2 separate regions of the Homo sapiens genome follow, and region 2 is linked to region 1. Evidence: promoter capture Hi-C in 16 types of primary human blood cells and fetal thymus (Javierre and others, 2016). All regions are on one chromosome and are shown on one strand. The core of a region is centred on a gene start or on the middle of the fragment in contact, and the rest is flanking DNA. Distances in the headings are between cores, read along the strand shown. Region 1 holds the start of GUCY1A2 (guanylate cyclase 1 soluble subunit alpha 2). Region 2 overlaps GUCY1A2 (guanylate cyclase 1 soluble subunit alpha 2).

What was found. The method cuts DNA at HindIII sites, captures the fragments that hold promoters and counts their contacts. A CHiCAGO score of 5 or more calls a contact.
Region 2: a contact is called between a fragment that was not itself captured here and the fragment with the promoter of GUCY1A2 in region 1, in 1 of 17 cell types (endothelial precursors). The highest score is 5.7, in endothelial precursors.

What each region holds. Positions count from the first base shown.
Region 1 is chr11:107,016,977-107,023,879 of GRCh38, reverse strand. GUCY1A2 (guanylate cyclase 1 soluble subunit alpha 2) reads left to right here and starts at 5,404. Exons shown (of 8, transcript NM_000855.3): 1 at 5,404-6,127. The coding sequence starts at 5,825. RefSeq lists a silencer at 5,881-6,010. The HindIII fragment of the contact is 2,566 bases long and covers 4,391-6,903 here.
Region 2 is chr11:106,718,289-106,724,302 of GRCh38, reverse strand. All of the region lies in intron 6 of GUCY1A2 (guanylate cyclase 1 soluble subunit alpha 2), which reads left to right. Among named protein-coding and RNA genes, the nearest start is that of GUCY1A2, 300 kb to the left of the region's middle. The HindIII fragment of the contact is 1,347 bases long and covers 2,567-3,913 here.

The sequences.
Region 1 (6,903 bases), core at 4,155-6,654:
TGGGTATCCACTGTCATTTGTTTCTCAAGTTTTTAAACAGAAAATTGTACCTATGGATTATCTTAAGGGATCCATTACATTTCCGCTTAATCATTATTAGTAACATTTTTCTAATGTTTTCTTATCTAGTGACAAAAGCACACTTCATACTTAATGTTAATACTTCTAAGAATTCTAGTCATCATATTAAAATTGGATTTTAAAAGATTTATTATTTAAAATAATGATTAAATAACAGACTGCATATTTACTATAAATTGGACATATTTAAGTAAGTGTCTATTAACATTAACAAAGTTATATTGAGGCATTCTTATTGATAATTCATACTTATTATTGTTAGCTGTCAAGCTTAATAAGCTGCAGACAGGAAGATATAATTCCTTTATATAATACAATAAAGCAGACAGAAGAATTAGGTTATGAAAAGACAGAGAGATAGTGAGCATCTAACCAAATAGGATTCAGTTGAAAAATTTTTTTTTATCCATTTAATTCCATGGACCATGTTCATGGCAGTTTTGTATCAGGAGAGGATCTTGGGTGGTTTAAGGAGGGATCTGTATAAGAATTGAATTCTCAGAAAGGATATGACAGGGAAGAAAAAGAGAATCTAACCTTATGATGATGTATGTGGGTACATTTTTTAGGCACAAGATATATCTGGAAAGGAAATGAACAGTTCAACAAATAGAAAAATTACAGAATTTTGAGGATTGATGATAACCTAAGGATTTTATCCAACACTTTTGATTTAGAGGTGAAGGGTTTGAGTCCCAGAGCAGTTAACAACTTGATTTTGGTCACAGAGCTAGTTATCAGCAGAGAACTGTAGAACTTCTGCACATGTCAGTGCTTTTCCACATTATGTTCCAGGACATAATTCATACAAGTTAATTGTGTATTTAATATTTATTTTAATGCAATAACCCACTCACATTGTGATTTTAATTCAGCATATTTTAAAATCTGTTTTTAGGACATTTGAGGACAAGAGACAGGCAGGAAAAGTGTTTCAGTGGAAATAGCATGGGCTTAGTAGTCAGGATTGGAATTCTGACTTTAATATTTATCAGCTCCATGACATTGGAAGATATTTTAAATCTCTGTGCCAGAATTTCCATAACTTTATAATTGGAAAAATATGTCCTATTATGTTGGGATTAAGAATCCCAATTTAAATAAAGTGTATAGAGACCTGGGATTGTTGAGTATGCAGACAAAAAGGCTGAGAGTTGTAGGAGACTGTGGTGCTGATATTAGTATTCAAACTGTTGACTAATAGGGTCTCTTCTTAAGAGGAGGATGGATTCCTGTGGTGCATGGTTGAATGTAAAGCCACTTAAGGAGAGAGTAGTGTCTGCCAGAGGCACCAACATACACTGATCACCTGCCTCTTTCTTGCTGTCATGGATTTGATGCATCAAAAAAAAGTCAGTTATTACACCCTTAAGTATCTTTCTGGGTCACAAATTCTACTAAGTGTAGCATTGACTTTGTTGCTTGTCTTTCTTTCTTTCCTCCTTTCCCCCAGCCTTCTCCTCCTCTATCCTTTTTTGAGCAGCAAGAATCCTACCCCTTTGGGATGGTTTTATGATAAAATATAACTATAGGACAATGGATTACATTGTCTTCTATGTGTCCCTTTATATGTGAACACAGCAGATGGTTCTTCTCACTTTGATATTATCCTTAATATTTAGTTTTACTTACAAAATTGTGCAACAATATGAAGTACAGTATCTCTTATTTGCTGCCAGTCTTTCTCAGAGAAAGCACATTTGCCCTCCTTAATATTTAGTTTTACTTACAAAATTGTGCAACAATATGAAGTACAGTATCTCTTATTTGCTGCCAGTATTTCTCAGAGAAAGCACATTTGCCCTCTTGTAAAAGAGGGGGTATGTTAAGTGTGAGAGAGTAGACAGATCTCATTCACGAACACAAACATAGGGTTAAACTAGCAGGTGAACAGTGTGAAGTGTGTGTGTGTGTATGTGTGTGTGATTTTCCAGGTTAGGGATCCAGAAAAACTTGCCCTAGTTAAGGATTCACCAGCTACTATATTTCTTTAGAAAACTTGCTTTAATATTACATGTACAATTCCTGTGAATTGCCAGATTTATGTAAAGAATGACAGGGAGAAATTCTTCAGTCTTCTATCAGGATAGAGCTCTGCTCCAGGGAACGCTTATGCAAATCTTGCAGATTTTCTTGCTGGAGTGTTAGATGAAAAGAAACTAGTAAAGAGTTTGAACCTGGGAAACGCAAAGAATTTTGGGAAGGAGGACTGATTGTGGTTTTGATTTGAATTTGACACACGTGACTTTTCTTCAACAACTTCTCTGAGAAGGATGAAAATCAGGTTAAATGAGGCTATATAAGTGAAAGGGTTTATAAATAGGATTGATTTATGTGAAGGGAAGGCACGCACAAACAATAGTTACTTTATGTTTCAATGTAAAATAGTCATCGTCTTGACTAAAGTGAAGAATCTGTTTTTTTAGGAAGTCTTTCCCAATGCTTGATCAATCTGAGTTGTCAGGTGCCTACGCCAACTTCACAAATAAACCAAGAATATTTCTGCATTTTTCTTTTCCAGTTGGAGAGTGGCCTTTAAATACTTTATTGAAATACAATATATCCAGCAGGGCTGGATTTGTGGGTATGAGCTTGGGCAAGCTTCTTTTCCTAAAATCAGAGCACAGACTATTCATTCTCAGCAGACTACTCTTCCTAAAGTATTTAGATTGCTTTTGCTAACTGTAAGCCTTCTTCTTCTTCTTTTTTTTTAATGGAGAATAGCTATGCTTCATTTTAAAAATGTCAATTCTAGTATAAACACAGCACTCTTCATATTGAGAGCTTTTGAACCCCGCTCCTGAACAGAAATACAAAGGAAACCCTTGAAAGCAAAGCAGATGTTGTACTGGCTATATCTAGGCCTTGATTTGTTTATAGTTTAAAAATCCATGGGAAAATAATGATCAAAGGCAGGGTGTAATTCATAGAGAAAATTGTAAGACGACTTCATCTGGCTAGATTCTGTAAAGAGTCTTTGATTCAAATGGTTCACACAAAGAAAAAATGTCCCATAGGTTCAGAGTTCTTTCTGGCAATAAACTTCCAGTGTAAACAGGAAGGCTCTTGGGCCTCTTACAAATTTTAGAAACAAATGATACTCATTGCCTTGCACTCAATAATTTTGACTTTGAGACAAGAGTTGGAATGGTTAATAAAAAGTTCCAATTCTAAGTTCAATATGAAGTTTATTTGCCGTTACCATAATATTTATTTGTGTGCGCAGCAGTTTATTGAAAGAATGTGAAGGACACATGCTATTTAGTATATTTAATACTAACTAAAATCCTATAATTCGAAAGAACTTGACTATTATATAATCAGTACCAAAGAAGAGAACTAGGAACTCCAATCCTTTATGCTGATTGATACTGTGTAGCAGAAATATTAAACAATTACCCCAAAGTTAGAATAATGTAATTTTCATTATAATTTAGAAAAAGGGGCTAGTGAAACTTTTTTAGCAAAACTGATGATTTTTTATGATTAAAAGTGTAATTTGAGTCTAATTTTCAATGGACACAAATGCACATAGAATTAATTGAAGTAATGGGGAAATCAATAGTAGATGCACAACAGTTTAAATAATAATTGTAACAATTATTATTTTAAAAGAAACTTCCTCAGGATGAGAAAGAATACATATATATAAGAATATATATTATATATATTCTTTCTCATATGTATATGTATATACATATACATATATATACACACACATATATATATATATATATATATATATATAATTTGAAGGGGGAGTGTCTGAGTGATAGTACACACTTTTCTATCTTTAAAGCCCATTTAAGATCTGGGGAAAAAGGTATGTCTCTGAACCAGTTTGAGTGGATTTTTCCAAATGAAACCTCAAATAGCATTTATATTTAAGCCCTAACAAACACTTGGGAAGATTTGAAGTTAAAAGCAAATTGTGGTGGGGGTACAGCACAGGTTTTGTGGTTTGGTTTTGTTTTGCTTTTTAAATAAACACAGTCCACAAAAACCCATCTGCCTTCACCTGGAAGGACCAGTTCTTTAATTAAAAAAACGCTTTGGCTTCGGTTTCACTGGGAAACTAAAGCCAGAGCCCCTAAACTTTTCTCTCCGCAGATCGGGTGAGCTGGGGAGGGTGCTCATCCACTTCATTGCAGGGGGAAGTACAGCCTGGAACCCCTTTCGGGATACTGTCATTTGCCCCTTCTTCCCATCTCTTACTCTATCCTCAGAACCAGTATGAGAGTTTTCTGGGGCTAAGGCAAGGGGCAGTGGGGTCAGGCGCTGGAAGGACTGGTTTGCAAAGAGATAAGCTTTGGAATGAAGCCGCACAGCTGAAAACTCGCGGCAAGACATGCTCGCGCTGTGGCGAGTCAGTTCGAGAAGCATTTATCCCTACTCCCCTTAGCTTTCTGAGCAGCATTTGCAGTCAGGTGCAAACAGATCGCATATTTGGCGCAAAGAGCCCTGAGGATGAGGGACGTGGGATCATTCCCCGGTTTCCCCCGGGCCAGGTGCTAGGTCGTTTGAGGAGGAACTGTTCTCCAGTTCTCAACGCCTGCAAAGGCGGCTATAGGTGGCAAGCGGAGCTGTCCAGCACTAGTGAGGAGCCAGCGGAGCCGGGAGCCCCGCGCACCCCGCCCGGCTGAGGCTCAGCAACAGTGCTGTCTTGTCAGAGCAGACGCTGTCCTCACTGCCGCCCCTTTCTGGGCTCGCTCCGCGCCCACACGGCCTCGCACGAGGCGGGGAACACAAGTCCCCAGGAGCTGCTCCAGCAGGATGGGCGCCAAAATGTTGCCCCTGTCCTTCCCTTCCCCTGAAAGCGTCTCCTCTGGAGTGGGCTGGCTGGACGCTTGGCCTTTCCCTTTTGCCTCGGAACTTCCTAAATAAACTCGGAGAAAGGACAACATGGACCCTAACCCCCACTTCACACTGTCAGGTTTCCCCAAGGTGGCTCCAGGGGGAGGCCTCTCGCCCCCCAGCCCCGAGCCCTTCTCCCCACCAGCGCCGCCGGGACCCATCTGCTCCCGAGGGCCGAGGATAAGGCGTTTGGGGTTGGGGCCCTCAGTCCGACCCGAGCTCCTGTGCGCACCTCCTCGGAGCAGGGAGGGCGCGCAGAGGACAGCAACGAAGTGTCCTCGTTGCTCCTGAAACGTGGCGACAGGCGAGGCAGAGACTCCCAATGAGTATGATGGCGACACGTGATTCCCGCGGAGGGAGAGCATGGGGGGGGGCGGGGGGATAAAGGGAGAAGGAGGGAGGCAGGGCAGCAAGTGGAGAGAGGCGGGAGCAGAGAGGGAAAGGGGGCGAGATAGGCGCGCAGGCGGCAGAAGCCTCTGCCTCTGCCTCCCCTTCTGCTTGGGCCGCAGCCCTCCCCGCCCCGCCGACCGCGGTCACACACTCTCGGAGCCTCCCCGTGAGCGGGAGCGCGGCGCACGGCGATGCGCCGAGGCGGGCGCTGAGGCGGCGCCGCGCGAGCAGCAGCAGAGGCGGCGGCGGCCCCCAGCCCAGCCCGGCGCCGCCGCCGAGCCCGGGCCCCAAGGTGCGGCGGCGCCCCAAGTTCCCGCCATGAGCAGCCGGCTCGGGGGGCTCCGCGGCCCCGGGGACTCCCGCCCCGCCGGGCGCGACCGCAGCGCCCCGCGGCCCCGACGCGCTTAACGTTGTCGCTTGCCGGTCCCGCCACCGCCGCCTCCGCCGCCGCTCGCGTCCTCGCCGCCACCGCCTCGGCCGCTGCAGCTCCGCCGGCAGCATGTCTCGAAGGAAGATTTCGTCCGAGTCCTTCAGCTCCCTGGGCTCCGACTACCTGGAGACCAGCCCGGAGGAGGAGGGGGAGTGCCCCCTGTCTAGGCTCTGCTGGAATGGCAGCCGGAGCCCGCCCGGGCCGCTGGAGCCCAGCCCGGCCGCAGCTGCCGCTGCCGCCGCCCCGGCCCCGACCCCGGCTGCTTCTGCCGCCGCCGCCGCTGCCACTGCCGGGGCCAGGAGGGTGCAGCGCCGGAGGCGGGTCAACCTGGACTCGCTGGGCGAGAGCATCAGCCGCCTGACGGCGCCCTCGGTGAGCGGGGGGCGGAAGGGGGGACCGCCTTCGGGGGAGAGAACGCGGATCTGTAAAGTTGGCGCTGGGCGAGCCGGGGCGCGAGCGCAGAGCCCGACCGCTGGGGGGCGGCCCGGCCTTACCCTGCACGGCCTAGGGTTCCAGTGGCTCCGGCGACAGAGGATCCCCTAGGCTAGGGCGGAAGAGGGGACTACAGCACTGGGAAGGAATAAGATTCCACTCCTTTGGGGTATCCTGATTCGGGGGCCTGTCTGCCCACCTCTAGCCTTGAACCCTACTTCACCACTGTTCCCCCTGGACAGCCCCAGTGCTGCTTCACACCCACCTGTTTTCTTTCCCCTAAACTTTCCCAGGCACTGTGTTCTGCAGTTCAGCTTCCCTGTCTTTCATCCTGTTCTCCAGCATCCCAAAGGAGCCCCAACCCCTTCCAGGAAACCCTTCCTCTCCTTATTTCCCACACTCTCTTGGTCTTAGCGTGACCTTCTCTGACATCTTTGAATTCCACAGGCTATCTGCATTCTATGTTGCATCCTTTTTCTCACATCTTCAGATACTTTTTGCCAGATACTTTTCTGAGTTGCCTTCTGTTCAAGTAATCTCTAATCTCGAGTTGTCCTCACCCCGTAGCTTTTTTTCTTTTTCTTTCTTATCCACTAGGCATTTATTCTTCTCTGGGTAAACCTGGTGTCTGGATTTCTTTTTTTTTAAATTAAATTTAATTTAAAGTCCCGGGTTACATGTGCAGGATGTGCAGATTTGTTACATAGGTACCAAAC
Region 2 (6,014 bases), core at 1,991-4,490, 300 kb after region 1:
AAGGGTCTGACAAATTGAGTCTGATGAATAAACTCTTGTGTTGGCCAATTCTGCCTGCCATGTGCCCTTAGACTGCTTGCAGGGCTGAGGCCCACAGTAGCTGTCCTGGCCTTTTGCTGTGTTACTGGTTCCTGGTGTACATCTCTGAAAGGGCTCAGGCCACCCTTAGATAATTCCACAAGGCAGGTGCCATGGCTTGGATACACTCACTTGACCCAAGTTAGCTTGTTCTGTTTATTCATATGGTTGTTTTTAACTTGGTAGAAAAAGTAAACTGAACGGGAATGGAGGAATACCTTAAGCAAGTTTCTGTCAAATTATTATTTACTTAAATTCATTTTTTAAGAAACTCCCTTTACGAGGTGAAACAGTTGAAGAAAACAATACATTTCAAATATCTAATTCAAAAAGCATATTAATTTATGTTCAAAGATGTTTTAAGAAGTGGTTTAAATTCATATTTTTACTTTTTTTTTTTGAGATGGAGTTTCGCTCTTGTTGCCCAGGCTGGAAGTGCAGTAGCATGATCTTGACTCACTGCTTCCTCCGCCTCCTGGATTCAAGTGATTCTCCTGCCTCAGCCTCCAAAGTAGCTGGGACTACAGGCATGCGCCACCATGCCCAGCTAATTTTTGTACTTTTAATAGAGACAGGGCTTTGCCATGTTGGCCAGGCTGGTCTCGAACTCAGCCTCAGGTGATCTGTCCTCCTTGGCCTCCCAAAGTGATGGGATTACAGGCGTGAGCCACTGAGCCTGGCCATTTTTTACTTAAATATTGAGTCACTGCTGTGTACCAGGAAGGTTCTGGTGGGTGCTTGGAATATTACAGTGAGAAAAATGTTGTTATATCTTTGTTTTCCCAGAAGTCAGTACTAAGCAAAGGAGACAGGTAATGAAAACAAAACAAAACAGTCAAAATAAAGTGTAGGAAATGTTAGGAGAGAAGAATCGTGAATACAGTTCATACCAGGGATTCCTAAGTTCCTGATGAAAGGCTTCCCAAAGTAAGTGACTTCTAAGCTGTGGTCTGAAAAGTGAGAAACTATCCAGCTAGATGAAGGGTTGAGAAAACCAGAGGAAACAACTTATACGCAGACATGGAGCAGGGATGATGGCTAAGCTGGGCCTCTGTGGTGATGAGAATTTCTCAAGAGAAGTGTTGGGGCACAGTCAGAGGAAACAATCATAAAGGATCGGGGAGACAAACAGCTTGCTGTGTTTTAAGATATGCAGTTGACTTTGTATCATAATAAAATATATCAAAATAACTATTTTAATAGTCCTATAAAATTACACATATATAAACATATAAATAATAGTGATAAATTCATTTGCTATTGAAGATATTGCTTTGGTTAAAACTACATATTTCTTATTCTGAATTTCACATGTCTGGGGGAATGGGGTCAAAACAAAACAAACCAGTGCTAACCATTCTGGTTCTATATGCAAAGGGATTCCTTAAAATTGACATTGTGTGCAACACACACACACACACACACACACACACACACACAGAACTGGTCTTTGATGACTATTTTGTATAAGTTCTTCATTTAGCAGGTGCTCTTTCTGAAAAAGAAAATTTCCTATTTTTTTTTCTTTTGTTTGCTTGAATGGGATCGATGACTGGCTAATCGTAAATAAATACTACCAAGCCTTTTATTTCAAACTTCAGAGCTTTCTTCTCAAAGCCCAGGTTAAAAGAAGAGTCCCAGTTAAATCAAGTGACATATTCTAGTCCATAGATTTACTGGTTCATGGTTCTATTATTCTTTTATTTTGTACTAAGGGCACTATCAAAATAAATAAAAACATCACAGCTGTACTGAAACACTAAAAGAAAAATCTTGAATTTTCAGTAGTGATTTTAGACCCCACTACCAAGATTTTTTTTTCTTTTTGCAGCCATTAACTAGTTTTTTAAAAATAGCTAAATTTGGGAGGATCTCAACATACAATTTTAGAAAGTCTAGTCTGAGATTACTTTATCAGTTATTGGAATAATCTGACAAGCAGAAGTAGGACTAGGAATAAAGCATTGATTCAAGATTTCTTGTTTAAATGGTGCTTCTCATTCTTTGTTTGCAAATCTTGAGGAATACAAAGATGAATGAGCATCCAGTCCCTTTGGTGTCAAAAATATCATGCTGCAAGTATTTAGAAGAGGGAAAGAGGAACATTTGTGCCTGGCATAGCATTTCCTTTCATTTTCATTTATTCTTCTGCTTATTAATTCACTTATTCAGTCAATCAACAAACATTTAAAGATTGCCTACTCAATACAAAATCCACTAGTGGGTGTTGATGATGCAGCAATGATTTGGCACTGAAAAGAAACTTAAGGTAATGGTTCTCAAAATTTGAGAAATCTGTGAACTTCTTTGAAAAGGTGATAGGTACTATGGGTGCAACATAGGCATATCTGTGCTCATAACTTCAGTGGGGCTGAGGAGGATGCCTTGAAGCCCACCATTGGATTCCTTGGGACTTATGAATTTTGCTTAGCAATTTCTTAATTACAGTTTTGTTCATTGTTTGAATTTTGCCATCCAATCCAAAGCTTTTATCCTTATTATAAGGTTGATTTCGTTTTCATAATTAACCCCTAAAAGTAATATTGGGTCAAATCTTAAAGACACTTCTCCAGTTGAGAGACCTACTGCTGACGTTAAAGAACCAACCTGCTCAGTAAAATGAACATGAGCGCCATCTAATGCCCAAACAGAATAAATGTTGGTAACAACATTAATACACAGAAGATTAGAGTATGGGGTGTATGTACAAAGGAATTAACTTTGTTATCGGTTGGTTGACTCATTTCTAACACTTGTTAATTATTTTTTGATATTATCATTTTCAATTATTTTATTTCACATAACAGTCCCTTACTGTCTGAATTTGAAGATAAGAAACATTTTTAACAATAAGAAACATTTTGTTGGCCAGGCGCGGTGGCTCACTCCTGTAATCCCAGCACTTTGGGAGGCCGAGGCAGGCAGATCACCTGAGGCCGCGAGTTTGAGAGTAGCCTGGGAAACATGGCAAAACCCCGTCTCTACTAAAGATACAAAAATTAGCCGGGCATGGTGGCGCACGCCTGTAGTCCCAGCTACTCGGTAGATTGAGGCAGGAGAATTGCTTGAACCTGGGAGGTGGAGGCTGCGGTGAGCCAAGATGGCACCACTGCACTCCAGCCTGGGTGACAGAGACTCTGTCTCAAAAAAAAAAAAAAATTTGCAAATATGTCCTTTTTATTGGTGGAGAAGCATATGACTTACATTTTTAAATAAATTTTTGATTTTAGAATGTTTTTCGTTTTTCAGAATAATTTGCAAAGATAGTCCATAGAATACCCAAGTATCCCACACCCAGTTTCACCCAGAACTAATATGGTACAATTGTTACAATTAACAAACCAGTATCAATACATTATTATTAGCTAAAGTCTACAATTTATTCATATTTTCTTAATTTTCCCCTAATGTTCTTTTATGTTTCAAGGTCCCATCTAGGACACCACATTACATTTGGTAATCATACCTCCTTAGGCTTAGTTATGACAGTTTGATTTACATTTGATATTGTATGTCTTTGAATTTTATTTTAGCTTTCTGTTATTTTTCAAAATCTTAAAACAATTTAACTTTTCAGAAAACACTTTCCCTTGTTCTGTTCCCTTGATAACACTGCATGACTATTTAATCAGTTTTATAGGGGTTTGTATAAACATACATTATCATTATGCATCGTTCATCTCTAATAATGAAAAAAAAGGGTTAAGAAAGAGGATTATCAAAATGTTTAACTTGCCAAGATTGCCAATATAATATAATAAATAAATGATGGGTCAGATTCCAAAGCCTATGACACCTTCCAAAAAGCTAACACATCTTTTGGCATGCATAAGCTTAAAATGCCCTCCACCCCAGCACCATGCTGCTGCAAGGGCTTCTGGAATGACCAACGCCCAAGACAAAGTCGTTTGCCTTTGGAGTCCCATTGCCCCTCACAAGCACTTTTTATTTTATATAAAAAGTTTATATAAAATACTCTATAAATGAGCCTGGGTTGCCACCCAAACTGTTTTGTGTTTGCCACGAAAACAGATGTGCTGAGGTCTCAAGGAAACTTCTGTCTTACACTAACTGGAATGCATTAAGTCTGAGGAGGGTTCACAGTTCTGTCCTAGTTGCTAATATTTTAATTAAACATATATTTTTGTGGCCTTTAAAAGCCATCAGGAGATATAAAGGAATATTTTTTTGATAACTTCAGTGTCCTGGGAGCAAAATGGAATATTGTGTTTCCTAATTGAAGAAGTAGTATATATGTGTATATGGATGTGAAGGAATTTATAGAATGCTGGCGAAAATGATTTCCTGGGCAAACAGTAGAGGTATATAAATTACTTGGATCCTGCAGTATTGATTATTTGTGAATATATCTGTAAAACATTAAGTGATTTTTGTACACTCATAGATTTCAACCTTGGATGCATATTAGAAACCCTAGGGAGGGTTAAAAATCCCAATACCCAATCTTCATTCCAAACCAGCTAAATCTTACTCTCCAGTAATCAAATTCAAAACAGCAATTTTAAAGCTCCCCAGTTGATTCCAGTGTGTAGCCAAGAGTTCTACATTGTAACTCAGGGGTTTAATATTGTTCCTGTACTTTTATTCTGCAGCATAAACTTAGCTATGCTATTTATTCTTATTTTTAAAAGAAGGTATGGCTTACGAAAGATGATAAGCATTATTATGTTTAACAATCAAACTCATTATTAAAATTCCTTTTTTTCTTATACTTCTGTCAAATGCATTGTTTTTTCTCTGAGTAATTTAGATGAATGAATTAATAACTGATAAACACACATGTAATACTATGAGACTCCTTTCCTAAATCCTTTTATCTATTTTCAAAGGATTTTATTTCTACATATTTAAAGTTTTTTAAATCATTTTTTAATTTGTGCTTCTATGAAATTTTTTTCTTCCTAGAAATTTTATTCCGGATTATCTGTTAAGAGCTGCATTTTGACAGAAAATGATTTTCCTTATTAACTGAGTGAATTGATAAGTAAGTAGGAATATTTTCCAGTGGTAGTCTCAAGATAGAAACTTCTAAGAGCTTTGAAGTTTTAGCAATTAACAGACTTTATTAAAAATGAAGCCACTAACAAGGATATTAATACAAGGTAGATTTCAATCTGGGCAATTATACAATATAGACGTCTTTATTACTAACTAAAATATCACAGAATGATTTGATTAATGCTATAAATGTGATTAGTAGAATAAGTGTATCCTTAGTGCCATTGGTTAGATAGCCAAAGACTGGATGTCAGAGAAAGGTTTCCAATTCTTTTCTACATATGAGAATCAAAATCAAATTATAGAAAAAAGTCACAATTGTTTTCTTGAATTCCTTAAATATGTTTTTCATCCTTGAATTCTGCTATTACTCTTCATTATAGTGGTCAGTTTGTGTGTGCTTCAAGTATGTCACTATGTTGTTAAATATGTCAGCTGTCTACATTTCTAACACAAAATGATCTTTTTTTTCAACCGCTAAGTTATATGCTGGTTATTTCTAAGTACATGCATATTCAATCTAAGTATCTCAGTTGATTTAAATCAGTTTCTTACTTTGAAAAGATTTTTAAGACTTTTTTTGCACAGAGGTAAATTTCAGATTCAGCTTATAGGCCTTAATAATAACACTCCTACAGACTGAGTCAAATTTAAATATCTTATCAGGTATTAAATATATTTAAATAAAAACATACACATTAATGAGTGCCCTGTGAGAAAGTGGTGGTGAATTTGAGCCATATTGCTATATCCCCACAGCAATATCTGACATTTTATTCAGTGCCATCAGCTATATGATTCTAGACATGCCCTCCTAATCAGTGGTTTGTAGGGTTTTATCCTTCCTCATCAGAAAATGTAAACAAGATTACAAACCCACTTTCTTCCCCAACTGTAAAATATTAATTATTTAAAAT